Regions from separate parts of the Homo sapiens genome. Here regions 1, 3 and 4 are each linked to region 2. Evidence: promoter capture Hi-C in 16 types of primary human blood cells and fetal thymus (Javierre and others, 2016). All regions are on one chromosome and are shown on one strand. The core of a region is centred on a gene start or on the middle of the fragment in contact, and the rest is flanking DNA. Distances in the headings are between cores, read along the strand shown.

What was found. The method cuts DNA at HindIII sites, captures the fragments that hold promoters and counts their contacts. A CHiCAGO score of 5 or more calls a contact.
Region 1: a fragment that was not itself captured here is called in contact with the fragment with the promoter of CSMD3 in region 2 in 1 of 17 cell types (endothelial precursors); the score reaches 7.2 in endothelial precursors.
Region 3: a fragment that was not itself captured here is called in contact with the fragment with the promoter of CSMD3 in region 2 in 3 of 17 cell types (monocytes, M2 macrophages and megakaryocytes); the score reaches 6.1 in monocytes.
Region 4: a fragment that was not itself captured here is called in contact with the fragment with the promoter of CSMD3 in region 2 in 3 of 17 cell types (monocytes, M0 macrophages and M2 macrophages); the score reaches 9.8 in monocytes.

What each region holds. Positions count from the first base shown.
Region 1 is chr8:111,437,364-111,441,401 of GRCh38, reverse strand. The region is part of intron 2 of LINC02237 (long intergenic non-protein coding RNA 2237); the gene reads right to left. Among named protein-coding and RNA genes, the nearest start is that of LINC02237, 63 kb to the right of the region's middle. The HindIII fragment of the contact is 405 bases long and covers 2,115-2,519 here.
Region 2 is chr8:113,434,263-113,438,217 of GRCh38, reverse strand. CSMD3 (CUB and Sushi multiple domains 3) reads left to right here and starts at 1,279. Exons shown (of 71, transcript NM_198123.2): 1 at 1,279-1,541. The coding sequence starts at 1,364. RefSeq lists enhancers at 1-345, 358-407, 2,185-2,695. The HindIII fragment of the contact is 6,354 bases long and covers 1-2,969 here.
Region 3 is chr8:111,931,541-111,935,385 of GRCh38, reverse strand. No RefSeq gene overlaps it. Among named protein-coding and RNA genes, the nearest start is that of LINC02237, 560 kb to the right of the region's middle. The HindIII fragment of the contact is 818 bases long and covers 1,535-2,352 here.
Region 4 is chr8:111,960,201-111,964,281 of GRCh38, reverse strand. No RefSeq gene overlaps it. Among named protein-coding and RNA genes, the nearest start is that of LINC02237, 590 kb to the right of the region's middle. The HindIII fragment of the contact is 1,268 bases long and covers 914-2,181 here.

The sequences.
Region 1 (4,038 bases), core at 1,068-3,567, 2.0 Mb after region 2:
TGAATAAATAACTTTGGGAGAAATTTTGCCTGCAGAATTTCCTGGTATTGTTTTCTTGAGATTTTTAGCAAAACAAAATTTTGTCAATTAGCCAGTTCATATGAACTAGTAGGCCAATGTGATCTAACCACTTGTTCAAAATGCCTATTGTAAAATTGATTACCTCTAGGAGTTAAGCTAGAGGCCTTGTATCAATTAGTAATTGTAATTGAAGCTGAGTGTAATTAATTATATAATTTTGGGATGTTAATGGTAAATCCCATTCTAATTACATGATGAAACTGAATCATTATGAAGAATTTACTCAGGTATGAATAAAACCTCTGAAGGGATTTGTTGGACATTTTTATTAAGAACAACAATAAAATTATTTTCACCTTATAGGATACATGTTAGACTGCAGGCAGTTATTAATTACAATGAATAATATCTGTGTCTCTCTTCTCATTTCACACGCTCCTCTCTGTTTCCTAAATCTTCATAAATATAGTTGTCTGATTCAGTAAAATGAAATTCTTTCACTATCATTCTATAGTGAGTTTCTAAAAAGTTTTTAAATTTTAGTTCATATAGACATTAAAAAAATAACTGCATATACTACATAGACTAGGTTGGGTAAAGATGACACAAGACAAATATATATATATTCACCAAATATACAACAGATATAAAACACCTTACCCATAATTGATATTATAATTTTAAAAAGGAAACCCCACTATGGGTGGAATTGAAATAATTTTTTCATGATGAGCTCCAAGTGTTTATTGAAAATAGATTGAACTAAGCAAATAAGATGAAAACTATCTGCCAATTCATCAGTAGCTTATTAGCTATTGATATAAAAGAATTTTCCATTAATTTTTGTATTCTCAATGCCCAGTACATTGGACCCTATATTAATTTTCCAGGAAGATATGATGAGAGCTGGGGACCCATTTCTGTATCATATGTCTTCTGTGTACTCATAACAGAACTGATAATCACGGAAAGGATAAAACCTTTGCATGAACACAACAGCTTCAAATACAGATTTAACACATAACTTTTGCCCAATTTTCATTGAACTTCTGCAACTGTTCCTTTTCATTTATATCCTTCACTTTCCCATTTAAAAGTGCTAGATCTTTGGGTAAAAACACAGTTGATTTGAAATAATGGTGGCTATCTGAATTTTTATTCTAGCTTGAGGCATTTGTGTTTTTTTTTCAAAATAATAAAATAGCTGAACACCTCAGTCGTGGATTCATTATACATAGAAATTAATATTTTTCATATTTAAAACTGCTTTAAGATAAAAACAAAAATTAAATGTGATAGGTGACAGTTTTAATTTTGTGACTAGTTAAGATTACTTCAATTTTGAAGTTTTATTGTGTATTTAGTAGAATATATTTTGAAGTGCACTAGTTACAGTATAATTTTATAACATCTTCTTACTAATATATAAAACAAACTATTTTAGAATAAAAATAGGCTTTGGTTCATTATCTGTGTCTCTGTTGCCTGAGTCTTGTAAATGAATATTACTTATTTATAAAAAATTTTAATTGCATATTGTCTGTGACTGCTGTATGCCAACAAGGTAATAAAAAGGTTATAACTGAGATAACTTTGCTGACTATGAAAACAGATGTCCCTTCCTTGTCTATTTTTTTACTATGCTTTAAATTTCTTCATTTTATAATCTCACATAATATTGTATAGTATTATGGGTTTATTTGTGTTTTTCCCTCATTAGAATATAAGTTTTAAGAAAGAGGCTATTTTCTCTGCTGTATCCACAATGGGAAATATAATAAATGCTCCATAAATATTTATTTAATAAATATGTACTTAAATCTGCAAAATACAGTTTTAATTTAAAACTAACTTAATTGTATTGCAGTTTTTTGGTGATATGTAAGAAATCAATATGATAAGATTCTACAAAATGTCTACTTTTGTAGACTAAGTTCAATTAGATAGACTAAGTTCAATTAGATAGACTAAGTTCAATTAGATAGCGGTATTTATTAAGTAAAATTACCTAGTTTCTTGTATAAAACGAGAAAAAATTCAATTTTAAGATTACAATATTGATGTCAAATTTAAATACCAATGGAGGCCAAGCTTATTTTCTCCTTAAATGTTTTGAAAAATATATGGACAATCATTTTTATTTTCCATTTTCCTACACTCAAAATATATGTAAAATAAAGTAGATATTATACTTGGCATGTAATGAGACAAACCCAGTCCAACATGCTAAAAGAATTTCTTTAAAATGTATTATCTTAGTAGGTAGTATTTGATGTAGCTAACATTACTAGAAGGTTGTTTTATAGTTGACAACTCCATTTAAGCAGAAGAGTTTGGATATTCAGCAACATGGTCCAAGGTTTATTTTCACCTCAGGTTAATAGGATTGTTTTTACGGAGTAGTGTTAACATGCCCTTTTCTTGTTTTGTTATCACCTTGTGTTTCTTTCTCAGTACGGTTTTCATATCTCTGGTTAAAACCTCCCGGGAGAAAAGCTTTAACACTAGAAAGGTACATTTTCCCCTAGGTTGCTCTGCCACTGCTTGCTTAGAAATTGCTGTGTATTATGGGACAGGAAAAGGAAGAAAAACAAATAATAGCTGAGGCTTTCTATTTATTAATCCCAGCTGAAGCGAGTAACACTAGCAAATTTCTGAGTGCATCTTTCTGTAGCAACCAAAACTAAGGCTATCAAGTGACGAAGCTTATTTCAAGTGGGAAGGAAAGTCATATGAAGTTTTCAAAATTAAAATATTATGATCTTTCTTTGTTGTGTCTATTCCTACAAAATGCCAAGAGATTAGTTGAAATAACTGAATTCTGCTCAACAGTTTTGTTGACATTTACAGATACTGTGGTAGGAAGAAAAATAGCCCACAAGAGATGCCCATGGTCTAATTCCTGGAAACTGTGAATATGTTATGTTATGCTGTAGGAGGGAATTAAGGTTGCAAATATAATTAAAGTTAGTAATCAGCTGACCTTGAGATCAGAAGAGTATTCTGAGTTATCTGGGATTTAATGTAATCACTGGAGTAATAATAAATGGGAGAAGGTCGCAGGAGAGTCAGTTACAGTATGTAAATTGAGAAATAACTATTCTTTGCTTTTTTTTTTTTCTTCTTCTTAAGACGGAATTTTGCTCTTGTTGCCCAGGCTGGAGTGCAATGAGGTGATCACGGCTCACTGCAACCTCTGCCTCCCGGGTTCAAGCGATTTACTGCCTCAGCCTCCTGAGTTTGCTGGGATTACAGGTGCCTACCACCACGCCCGGCTAATTTTTTTGTATTTTTAATACACAGAGGGTTTCAACATGTTGGCCAGGCTGGTCTCAAACTCCTGACCTCAGGTGATCTACCTGCCTAGGCCTCCCAAAGTATTGGGATTACAGGTATGAGCCACCGCGCTCGGCCCCATTCTTTGCTTTAAAGATGGAAGACGGATATGATCCAAAGAATGTGAGCAATCTATAGAAGCCAAAATTGGCAAGAAAAACAAAAATTCTTTAGAGACTACAGAAAAGGACGCATCCCTACCAACTTTTGGCCTTTTGGTCTTTAAAAGTGTATGGTGATAAATATGTGTCTTTCTAAGTAACTAAATTTATGGTAATTTGTACCATAATAGGGATGTTACAACACAGTATAGCAATAGGAAACTCACAGAGATACTTGATTGAATTAGCAGATTTTCCTGTGCCAAAGTAAACAGCAGTCAAAAACATGGAGCTGTAATGACTCTGAGGTAACAGTTAATGTTTCTGCAAATAAGACTATGTAAACAAATTTCAAAAAATTGCAAAAAAAATCCCGGAATCTAAGGCTAGGTGAAAAGTTTCTAGAGTTGACACCAAAAGCATTATCCATGAAAGAAATATGAGAAATTGAACCTCATCAAAATTTTTTTAAATTCCTTTTTTGAAATACTTACTAAATGGATAAAAAGACAAGCTATAGAATAGGAGAAAATATTTGCAAATCACATATCCAACAAAGGACTAGTATTTAGAATATAAA
Region 2 (3,955 bases), core at 30-2,529:
CTCTAGACTAAGCCTTGTTGATAGACGCTCACGCCCATGATAGCCTGAGGCAGTTAAATGGAGCCACACGCAACAGCAATATCCTGTTTCAGAACTAGCGCTGTGGCACTCCCCACTGCTGAGAGGGGACCAGATTCCCGAAAAGGTCAGATCACCAATCAGTTGCCTAATCTAAGGAACTTGTTCATTGAAAGATTTGGGCCAGGACCGTGGTCGAAAAAAATCAAGGAGCACGACATACTGGTCCCGGGGACACAGCTCCCCTGACACCAAGGGATGGCAAAAACAGGGTCCCTTATACATGCGAAGGAAGAACGGGCGGCTCGGAGACGGCCAGTAGATGGCGCAAGAACTCTTCCCTTGTGCAATCTTAACCCTTGCGTGGTGCATGGGGGAAGCAGATCCAGATGTATAGATACATACATTTTTCGTTTTGAAAGAAACCTCCTATTTACATATTTGGTACCGATTCAGAATTAAGACAAATGGGTTTGTTCTAGATAACTACCACAGATAAAGTAGTTTAACTGCGGCACACACAAACTGAAAAGGGGGTTGGGAGGATGAAAGGGAGAACTATTTGAGGAAACGACATTGACTTCCCTCCCCACCCCACCCCCGCCCAGGCCACGGATGAAATCCGTTTCCCGAATCATAAAAACCCGGTGAAGGGTTTACACGTAGTTATTTGAGTATGTAAATACATGTGTTCAAATACATTCTTTTCCGTGTGAAGGCAGAATTTATTGAGAAAATTCTCTGTGATTTCCTTTTTCAATTAAATCACAGGATAATAAATGGGAGAAGCCTGCCTGAAATATACTGCAACTACAGTAGTAACACATGTCCCATTATAACGACGTGGGCATCGATGGAGCCCGATTCATTATCGTCACGGTTTCCCCAAAAGCAACACAGATCCTCCGATTAAAATATTCCTTTGACATGCTTCTGTATTCGCAGCCTGCAACGGAGAGCTCACTAACATTATTTCTTGGGCTGCTTTTACAGGCAGAATTGATCTATTCGGGGAAAAAAAGCAAGCCCCTTAATTTCAAATATTGTGTGGAGTTTATCAGAGAGCAGAGGTGGGCTTTAAGAGGCTCACTAGTGGTTTCTGGTGGTTGCTATAACGAGCCAGAATTGGGGTAGATTTTGGTGGAGGGGAAAAAACGCACAAGAAAAGACAGAATCCAGAGTAGCGGAGACTTTGTGCCCCCGTTGGAGAGATGGTTGAGTCCTCGTCAAGGTTGCTGTGGTATCCCAGAAACACCATTCACTCCGAGCTGTGACCGCGCACCAACAACAGCAACAACTCCACTGCGCCGGGCTGAGGAGCAGGAATTAGGAGCTCGCGAATAATATGAAAGGGATCCGCAAAGGGGAAAGCCGAGCAAAGGAATCCAAACCCTGGGAGCCTGGCAAGCGAAGATGCGCTAAATGTGGCCGCCTAGACTTCATCCTGATGAAGAAAATGGGGATTAAAAGTGGATTTACGTTTTGGAACCTCGTCTTTTTATTGACGGTGTCTTGTGTGAAAGGTAGGTCTGCTTTGGGGGTCCCCTCCGCTTTGGATGGAGGTGGGCTGACTTGTAGATGGAGAGAGGCTGGCAGCTTACTTTGCAATTTGCACCGATAAAATAATCTGATAATACTAAAGGAGTTGATTCACAGCTCGTTCTCCCCCCCTCAGATAGGAAATGCATTTTGCTTGCCAGATTTGGCGTTCAATGCGGTGATTGAGCTTGTGCTCAATAAATATTCTTGCAGTATGCTCAAACGAATACGTGAGTTGGTTAGTATAGCCTCTAACTAGTGGATATCCAGGCAGAATTCCTCTGCAAGACTTTTCTTAGTGGTGAGGATTACCTTGATTTCTTGTCAGATCACTAGGGCTTGAGGCTTTGGGTGGAATATATATATTAAAGACGCTGGTCTAAATGCTTTTTAACCCTTTCAGGGAAGAAAGTTATCGACGTGCTAGGAATGTGTTGATTTTAAATGCATTAGGGCACAGGGATCTTCCAAGCACTGCCACATCAACATGAATGTCTGCATGCATATGTATGTAAATTGGGCTTCTATGCAATGTTAAATGTAGGGGAGCTTCCCTAGGACCTGTGGTAGAGGTTTGGCAAAAAATGAGGCTTTCGAAGGGTCTGAAATGCCATGAAGTGTAAAGAACCACCTTAAGGGATGAATGAGGTAGGAGGAAAGTCATTAGCTGACGACCAAAAGAAAATCCCCAGCAAGTCTCAGCGTTCAGACAGGTAGAGTGAGTGTCACATGCACAGATAGGGGAGGGGGTAGGTGGGATGTAAAAATGTATTCCCAAGCAGGAAGGCAAGGGACAGTCAGGATCATGGGAAAAAGAGCTGTCCTTAGGGAGAAAATAGATCCATAGCTCTCTTCCACAACTTCTCCGGCACCCTGCTGCCCATTAATTGCTGCAAAGAATACTCAGGAGGTGTTTATGACTCATGCCATCATTTTTTGAACAATCACCTCTCCATACTCATGGCAGCTCGAATAGACGCTATGGATGCCGCTTTCAGTGAAGCTAGTTTCAAATCCCGGGTGTCTGTGTGTCGCGGGGGGGCGGGGGATCGCGGGAAAGGGGGTGCTGTTTTGGCCCAGGCGCGCCAGGGCTGTCAACACAAACTGGACGCTTCTTCCTTTGTAAAGGAGTGCCTCTCTGAACTGCAATCGGGCCGCGTCTCTATGAAACAGTTTATTGTCCAGCTTGCAGCTGGCTGTCCCCCCACGGAAGGCAGCTCATTTGCATTCAGTGGAAATGATAATTCATGTTTTGGGAGGAGGGAGCTGGAGAGGTTACCTTTCCCTCTACTATAACCAATGATGGGTGGCATGTCTAGAATTTTAATTTACATCCCAAAATGCCAGGAAGTCAGTCGCCCCGGTCTCTGTGGCAGCAACTGCCTTGTAATCCCAACCTGCTCCTTGAAGCTTGATTTTTCTTTTCTCTCTGGGGCCTCAGAGCAGCTCTGAGCCGAAAAGCTTGTCCTAAGTGGCACAACTACACTGCCAAATGTACAAAGCACGGCTCAGGTTGCTTACAAGGTTTCTTTGTCGCTGGCTCGACGGGTGAGGAGCCACACATTTATGCTTAGTTCGCCTGCCACTGGGAGTTGGTGGTTAATGGATGGCCCTGGGGCTGCCTGCTAGACGCGCGCTTCGCGTGGGGGAGGCGCGAATAGCCAGCAGCAGCCCTGGCAGAAAAATGTAAGGGTGGCTCCTGTGAGAAGATGACCAGGGTTTAAGTGCGAGTTTTCATGTGATACCTGTTGAGCCAAAACACATTCGGGGGCAGATGAGGGGGAGGGAAGTCTCCGAAGCGGGGCGAGCATTACAGCCTGACTAACGCTGATCCGCGCCGCCTGCAATTAGAGCCCCGGCTGCCCGCACCTACCGTATTTTCCGAATGAGATGCGCCGATAGAAAGGAAAGGCGCGTTAATTTACTTTGGACTGATATAATCGGTTTAGCTTTGGAGATATTGAGAAGGAAGAGTATGTCATAGCCTTCTTTGATCCTGTGCAAAATCAATATTCTACAGACTATACGTAAAAAACATTTTTTTTCAATGTCAATAAAGTTATTGTCACTCATCGGGCACTTGGAAGGCATCTCCTACATTTTACGACTTGGAATACTGTCCCCAAATTCTGAGAAATTTGCATAGGTTTTATGTTTTAGACCTGCTGTCAATCTCCGAATGATGCCAATTTTGATAGTTGCTTTTTACTCTCCCTTTCCTCATTTTATTTTAATTTCACCTGTCTCAAGGCTTTCCTAAAGCCAAGATTGATGCAATGCCTTAAACATTGTTTGCCCCAATGTCTATGCTCGCTTTTGTCTTCTACACTTTCTTCTGGAATGTGAGGTCCATGAAAAACCTCAGACTGGGGAGCCGTTGTAAGGATTTTGCAGGTTC
Region 3 (3,845 bases), core at 694-3,193, 1.5 Mb after region 2:
GGGTCATTAATTCAAAATTATAATAAACTACATACACTGCATTAAATAATGGTCAAATTAATTTCTAGATATTTATAAATAATGTACTACTGTAGCTAGCAAATAATCAGCTGATCTTTAAGAATGAATCTCTGTGGATTTATTTTCCTATTCTATGATGAGGACAGTGATCGTTGTTTATAGGAACTAGAAAAAAAGTTTAGGACATAATCTCTGCCTTTGAGTTTTTTACGAATTGAATTTCTCTTTGTTGGTTTTATAATGGAGGTCTTCTGCCTGTTGACAAAAACGGAGGAGACTTATGTTTCATTTAGTTAGCCTAATTTTTCTGCTTTAAGAACCTCAGCATTAGACTGAACCTTTATTTATTTTGTATATTCTTTATTTTACATATAATCTTTATCTGAAAGTGGGAAGCCTTATTTGCCACATGTGTAATAAACACTCTAATGTATACAGATATCAAAAATCATAAAATATATTAAGAGTTCAGCACAAAATTATTTTTGGTGGCTTTAGGACAAATATCATACTGAAACATCCTAAAATATTGTATTATGGTTTTAGAACTATTACTATGATTAAACTTCATAATGCATTATATGCAGATCATGGTTGGTAAACTAATAAAATTGGTGTTTGCATGTATTATAGTGAAAGTAAAGCTGAGTTACATCAAACTAAAGTTAGCAAATCCAGAGCTACCTGAGATCATATAGAATGCAATATAAAGAAAAGCAATCTATATACATGCTAAACGTGAGATAGTTTCCTATATTTTTTTTTCTCTCAGGATATTATAGTAGCTCTATCTAGTGGTCACATACAAATATTACACTTAGCTAATAAATAGAAATTAAGAAACATGCTCTAATGTGCTATTACTGTCAATTCACTTTTTGCAAACTGAATGCCAAATGATTTAAAGATACATACATTTCACCTCATCTTATTCATTGGTATTACCTTATTTTAAAATTCTTTTTTTTAACTTAAATTGTGGTAGAAACACTTAGCATGAGACCTACCTTCCTAACAAATGTTAAAGTATACAATACAGAATGCTTACCTGTAGTCACAATGTTACACAGCAGATCTCTAGAACTTACTCATCTTTTATAACTGAAACTTTGCCTCCCTTGAATGGCAACTCTCCATTTTCCCATTCCCTCTGCCCCTGATAAAAACCATTGTACTCTCTGCTTTTATGTGTTAGAGTATGACAGAGTCATTTTTAAGCCAGGCTTATTCATTAAAATTGAGGATTTGGGTTTGTATTTTCCTGCCATTGATTTTGATGCAAAACATAATTTAAATAATGAAAAATTTTAACAAATTTAAGAAGCTATATTTTGAACTTACAAGTTAGAGGAGAATATAAAATGTGATCTTAAAACTTTGATGATATATAACCATAGCGGGGTCTATCACTTATGAAAAATTGTTGAAAAATATTTTTACCAGGCCAAAATTATGCCTTCTGATAAAATGATATTTTGCTGTGGGATAAAATTTTACTTATTATCCAAAAGCTTTGATATATTATATAAGTAACACATAATCTAATTTTAATGCCTTCATGTAAACAATGGCTTTTTAGCTATTGTCATAAAAAATTAATCAAATCCTAATGACTTCAAATAACAATATTTTATTGATTTCATGAGTCTGTGTGTCATCAAGATGGTTCTGCTAATCTGGGCCAGATGTCATCCTCAGCTGAGCCCATTCATGCATCTATGGTCAGTTGCCAGATCACCTGCCAGGTCAGCTGGGGACTGGATGGTCCAGTAAAGTCTCAGGTGGTATGATTCATCTCTCACCTTCCTTTAGGCCAGCTAGGATTCTTCACACAATGTCTGGGTAGGGTTTCAAGAGAAAGGACAGAAATTTACAAAGCCCCTTTGAGGCCTAGAGTTGGAATTGGCACCACATTACTTGTGCTGCGTTTTGTGACCAAAAGAAGTCACAAGACAGGTAAAGGGAAAGAAAAGAGACTCCTCTCTTGATGTGAGCAGCTGCAAAGTCACACTGCAAAGGGTATGGATGTAGAAGTGAATTATGGTCATATTTCCAATCTACTATGAGTTTTAAGGAATTATTAAAATATAACTTTTTTTTATTTAGAGTAAGAGTTTCACAGATATTTGTATAACTTAACGTGATGCCTTTTTTAAGTTCATGAACAAAATTTTATATCTTTCTTGCTAAATTTTAAGAGTCATAAATATCTCTCTTTGGTAGGGACAGGTCAATAAATAGCTTTGTTTATAAATAAAATAAGATTAATTGCAACTTAATTTATTTTAGCTGTATGCCCAAAAAGAATACTCCTCAGTGAAAATAAAAGCTTTGGGCTAACACATGTTCTCACTTATAAGTGGGAGCTGAATGATGAGAATACATGGACACATGGTGGGGAATAACACACACTGGGCCCCGTCAGAGCTGAGGGGTTAGGGGGAGGGGGAGCATCAGGAAAAATAGCTAAGGGATGCTGGATTAAATACTTAGGTGATGAGATGGTCTGCACAGCAAACCACCATAGCACATATTAACCTATGTAAGAAACCTGCACATCCTGCACATCATATACCCCTGAACTTAAAATAAAAGTTGAAAGGAAAAAAAAAAAAGGTTTGGGCTAAGAATCCCTGAGTCCTATTGATACATTTATCAGTAGCATTGTTTCAGGAAAATCATTTCCCCTCACTAGTTCCTTGCTAACCCATTTGTACAATGAAATAATGGAGTTGGGTATACTCCAAGATTTCTTCTAAATCTTCCAACTTTTTTTTTTAGTGTTTCTTCTAGTATTCTCTGTGACAAACACATACACACGCACAAACACAAACACACACACTATTTACTCTGCTAAATGCAATCAAGAATATTCTAACTAGTAATTAATTTCCATTCAATTAAAAACATCTAAATATTGCCTAGACTAGGATGTATCAGTCAAAGACAAAGTAATTATTTTAAAAATACCTTTGTAACAATTATAACCCTGATTCATATTCTTTTAACATGTATTTTCAAGTCAACATTCTCTAAAAACAAACAAGCAAAACCCCCAAACGCCCCATTATTCCCTATATCAATTGAAATGGCTTTGTAAAAGATATACTAGTATATTGTGTTTTCAATTATTCACAATAACAAAAATGCTACAATGAGCATCTATCTATCTCTCCAGCTACCTTTATCATCTATGCATTTGATTTATCTAGAATGGCTACCAGAGGAGGAATTATTGGGTCAGAAATATATGTTGTTTTGTGTCAGATATTCACTCGCAGACAAGCAAGTTCGCACCAAGTGTTTCACATCAAAGGGTAAAAGACGCATAGCACCAAACACAGAGTCTAGCAATCCTAAGGTGAATGAGCTCTGTACGCCTTTAACAACTTAAACTCTAGTGGAGTGTGTTCATGAATAACCTGCTGTGGATTATTTGGATCAGGCCTTACAGAAATAGGAAAAGCAGAAGGTCCTAAGGGGTCTCCAGCTATGGCAGCAGAGCATAAAATCCTTTGTATTTGGGTTTCTATTTCTGCTACCGAAGCAGAGGAGGCGGTATAGGCCAATTTTTATCCTCCCTCTCCTGTTACTCTGATTCAGAAAACTTCCTGTTCCCAGTACTTCTTTAAAGCACTGCTCCCAGCACATCTTTAGGGACCTTATATCCACTGCCGGCAGACTTGTCCCAGGGTCCCTGTCTGCCTTGCCAATTTCAGTTCCTCTGCTTCAGTAGACCTTCTTCGTTCACATCCTTGAAGTCCCGTGTTCAGGCACCACTTATTGAGCACCCGATTCCATCCCTGTTCGGGCGCCACTATGTA
Region 4 (4,081 bases), core at 298-2,797, 1.5 Mb after region 2:
ACACTCTGAAAGCATCTAAAATTGAAGCCAACTGATGGTACTCAACTGATACCTCAGTAAAGAAACACCAATTCTCCCAGATGAGCAAGAATCAGCACAAGAACTCTGGCAACTGGAAAAGCTAGTGTCCTCTTACCTCCAAATGGGTTCACTGGCAATAGCTCTTAACCAGTCTGAAATCACTGAAATGACAGACACAAAATTCAGAATCTGGATGGCAAGAAAGCACACTGAGATTCAGGAGAAAGTTGAAACCCGATCCAAGGAATCCAGTAAAATGATCCCAGAGGTGAAAGATGAAACAGCCATTTTAAGAAAGAACCAAACTGAACTTCTAGAGCTGAAAAATTTAATGCAAGAATTTAATAATACAAAAGCAGTATTAACTACAAAATAGGCCAAGCTAATAAAAGGATCTCAGATCTCAAAGACCAGTTCTTCAGAACAACTCAGACAAAAATAAAGAAAAATCATTTTAAAAAATTAATGAAAACTTTGAAAACTATAAAATTATGCAAAGAGATCAAATCTACACCTCATTGGCATTCCTGAGAGAGGAGCGAGAGTAAGCAACTTGGAAAATATATAAGAATATAGTTTATGAAAATTTTCTTAACTTACTACAGAGGTTGACATTCAAATGCAATAAATACAAATAGCCCTAGCTAGTACTATACAAGATGACCATCCTTCAGGCACATAATCATCAGATTTCCAAAGTTAATGCAAAAGAAAAAAAATCTTAGAGGCAGCTAAAGAGAAGGGTCAAATCACATACAGAGGGAATCCCATCAGGCCAGCAGCAGATCTGTCAGCAGAAACCTTACAAGCCAGAAGAGATTGGAGGCCTATTTTCAGCATTCTTCAAGAAAAAAAAATCAACGAAGAGTTTCATATTGCACCAAACTAAGCTTCATAAGTGAAGGAGAGAAAATATCCTTCTCAAACAAGCAAATGCTGAGGGAATTTGTTTCAACTAGACCAGCATTACAAGAGGTCCTTAAGGGAGTGCTAAACATAAAACCAAAAGAATGACACCTGCTACCACAAAAACACACTTAAATAAACACATAATCCACAGGCACTATAATGTAAGTACACAATCAATTCTACATAACAACCAGCTAACAACACAATGACAAGAATGAAAATCACACACGTTAATACTATCTTGAATGTAATTGGGTTAAGCATCACTTAACCCAATTAACATCACTTAAAAGACACAGAGTGGCCAGCTAGATAAAAAGACAAGATCCAACATCTTTTCCCTTCAAGAGATCCATCTCACATGTAACAGCATCCACATGCTCAGATTAAAGAGACAGAGAAAATTATACCATGCAAACAGAAAAGTAAAAGAGCAGGAGTTGCTAATCGCATGTCAGGAAAAACATACTTTAAACCAACAAATATTAAGAAAGATAATAAAGGGCATTATATAATGATAAAGAGTACAATCCAACAAGAAGACTTAACTATCATATATATATATATATATATATCCAACATTGGAGCACCCAGGTTCATAAAATAAGCTCTTCTTGGCTTATAAAAAGACATAGACAATCCCACAATAATAACAGAAATCTTCAACACCCCAGTGACGTGACAGTGCAAGATAGATTGCCAAAGCAGAAAACTTACAAAGAATCGCTAGACTTTAACTTGACACTTGACCAATTGAAATTAATAGGTATCTATAGAACAGTCCACCCAACAACCATAGAATATACATTCTTCTCATCTACACACAAAACATATTCTAAGATTGACCACATGACCCATTATAAAGCAAGCTCAATACATTCAAGAAATTGAAATCATACCAAGCACACTCTTTTACCACAGTACAATAAAAATAGAAATCAGTATTGAGAAGGTCTCTCAAAAACACATAAAAACATAAAAATTGAACACCTTCTCCTGAATAACTTCTGGATGAACATCAAAATTCATGCAAATATAAAAAAAATGAAATTAAGAAAAATGGAAACAACATACCAAAATCTCCGGGATGCAGCTAAAGCAATGATAAGAGGAAAGTTTTGTAATTAATTTTATTTTTATTTTTAATTATTTTTTTTTTGAGACAGTCTTACCCTATCACCCAGGCTAGAATACAGTGGCACAATCACAGCTCACTGCAGCCTTGACCTCCCAGGCTCAAGCAATCAAGCTTCCCACCTCAGCCTTCTGAGTAGCTGTGACTACAGCCATGCCATCTGGCAAATTTTTAAACTTTTTGAAGAGACAGGGTCTCACTATGTTACCCAGATTGGTCTCGAACTCCTGGGCTCAAACAATCCTCTTGCATTGGCCTTCCAAAGTTCTGGAATTATAGGAGTGAGCCACCACACCAGCTCATAATAGTGAAGTTTTAAAAATCTCTTTTGAGACATTCTTAGCTAATTGCATATTTTTGAAGGAAATTCTGAAATTCTTGGCATGAGAGCATAAAACATTTCAATAAACAAATAATAATCCTAACATCCTAAAAATCATACTGAACTATTTCTATTTATATTAATATTTTATTATTTGACTTAGTCATGTAGCATATTTGTCTTTAATATTATATAAAATGACATGTAAGAAAGAAAAATCATAGTTTCTGCTAGAGGTTATTTACCATGATTTTAAAGAAATTTGAGAAGTGTGACCGAATTTTTTTGAAAAGTAGATTTTTTGGATTCATACTAACATATCCATTTTTTTGAGTTTGACTACCATTCAGATAAAAGGGGTAGGTTTCCTGTTATTATAATATTATTTGATAGGTATAACAATAAAACTTTTATTGTGGTAAGAAACATAACACAAGATTTACCCTCTTATCAAATTTCTTTTCTTTTTCCCTCTCATCAGATTCCTAAGTGTGTACATTACAGTATCATTAACTAATAGCACTATGTTGTACAGCAAATTACTAGAATGTAAACATCTTACATAACTGAAATTTTATACTAATTAAACAACTCCCCATTTTCCCCTCCCACCAACTCCTGACAGACAACATTCCCATCTCTGCTTCTGTGAGTTTGGCTATCCTAAATATCTTCTACAAGTAGAACCATGCTGTATTTGTTCTTCTGTGACTGGCTTATTTCACTGAGCATAATTTTCTCCAGGTTAATCCATGTTGCCACATATAGCAGGGTGTCCTTCTTTTATAAGGCTAAATAATATTCCATTGTATGTATATACTAAAAGCTGCACAGAGAAGGGAACAATCCATAAAGTGAAAAGGCAACCTATAGAATAGAAGAAAATATTGGCAAAACACATATCTGTTAGGTAGTTAATGCCCAAAATATACTTTAAAAACGCCAGGAACTCAATTGCAAAAATAAAACAAAAAATGCAATTAAAAGAATGGGCAAAGGACTTTAAAAATGGGCAATACAACAAATAATCTAATTTTTTAAATGACATGTAACTTATCTGTGTCATTAAGGGCTTGTTTGAATGCAGTTTTATATAGCATTTCCATTTAAATGGACATTTCCCCAAATAAGACATACAAATGGACAACAGGGATATAAAAGCAATGTTCAACATTACTAATCATCAAGGAAAAGCAAATCGAAACCACAATGAGATAATACCTCATACCTGATAGGATAGCTATTATTTTTAAAAAGTGTTAAGAATTTGGAGAAATTGGAACCCTTGTACACTGTTGGTGGGAATGTAAAATGGTGCAATAGCTATGAAAAACCATACAAATGTTACTCTGAAAAAGTACTTTTAAAGGCAATGTGATTTACAAAGTGCACAAAAAAAATCTGGTATTGCTTATTAGATTGAAATTCATTTCAGCAGAAAAAATTGATTTTACAGATCAAAACAGGAGTTAAGCAACAATTTGATCTTTCATATGTTTTCTTATTTTACGCCTAGTGTTCCATTATTGGAACGCTAAGCATGTGGGAGTTATTTATAGCCTACTGCTCAAGGTCATCGCCAAGGTCTGATTGCAAAAAATTCAAAACATTGCAATCTCAGGCATAAATGGGTTAAATTTACATTTGTAGTAATCTTAACAGAATTTAAACATTAGATTTTCTTACATTGGATT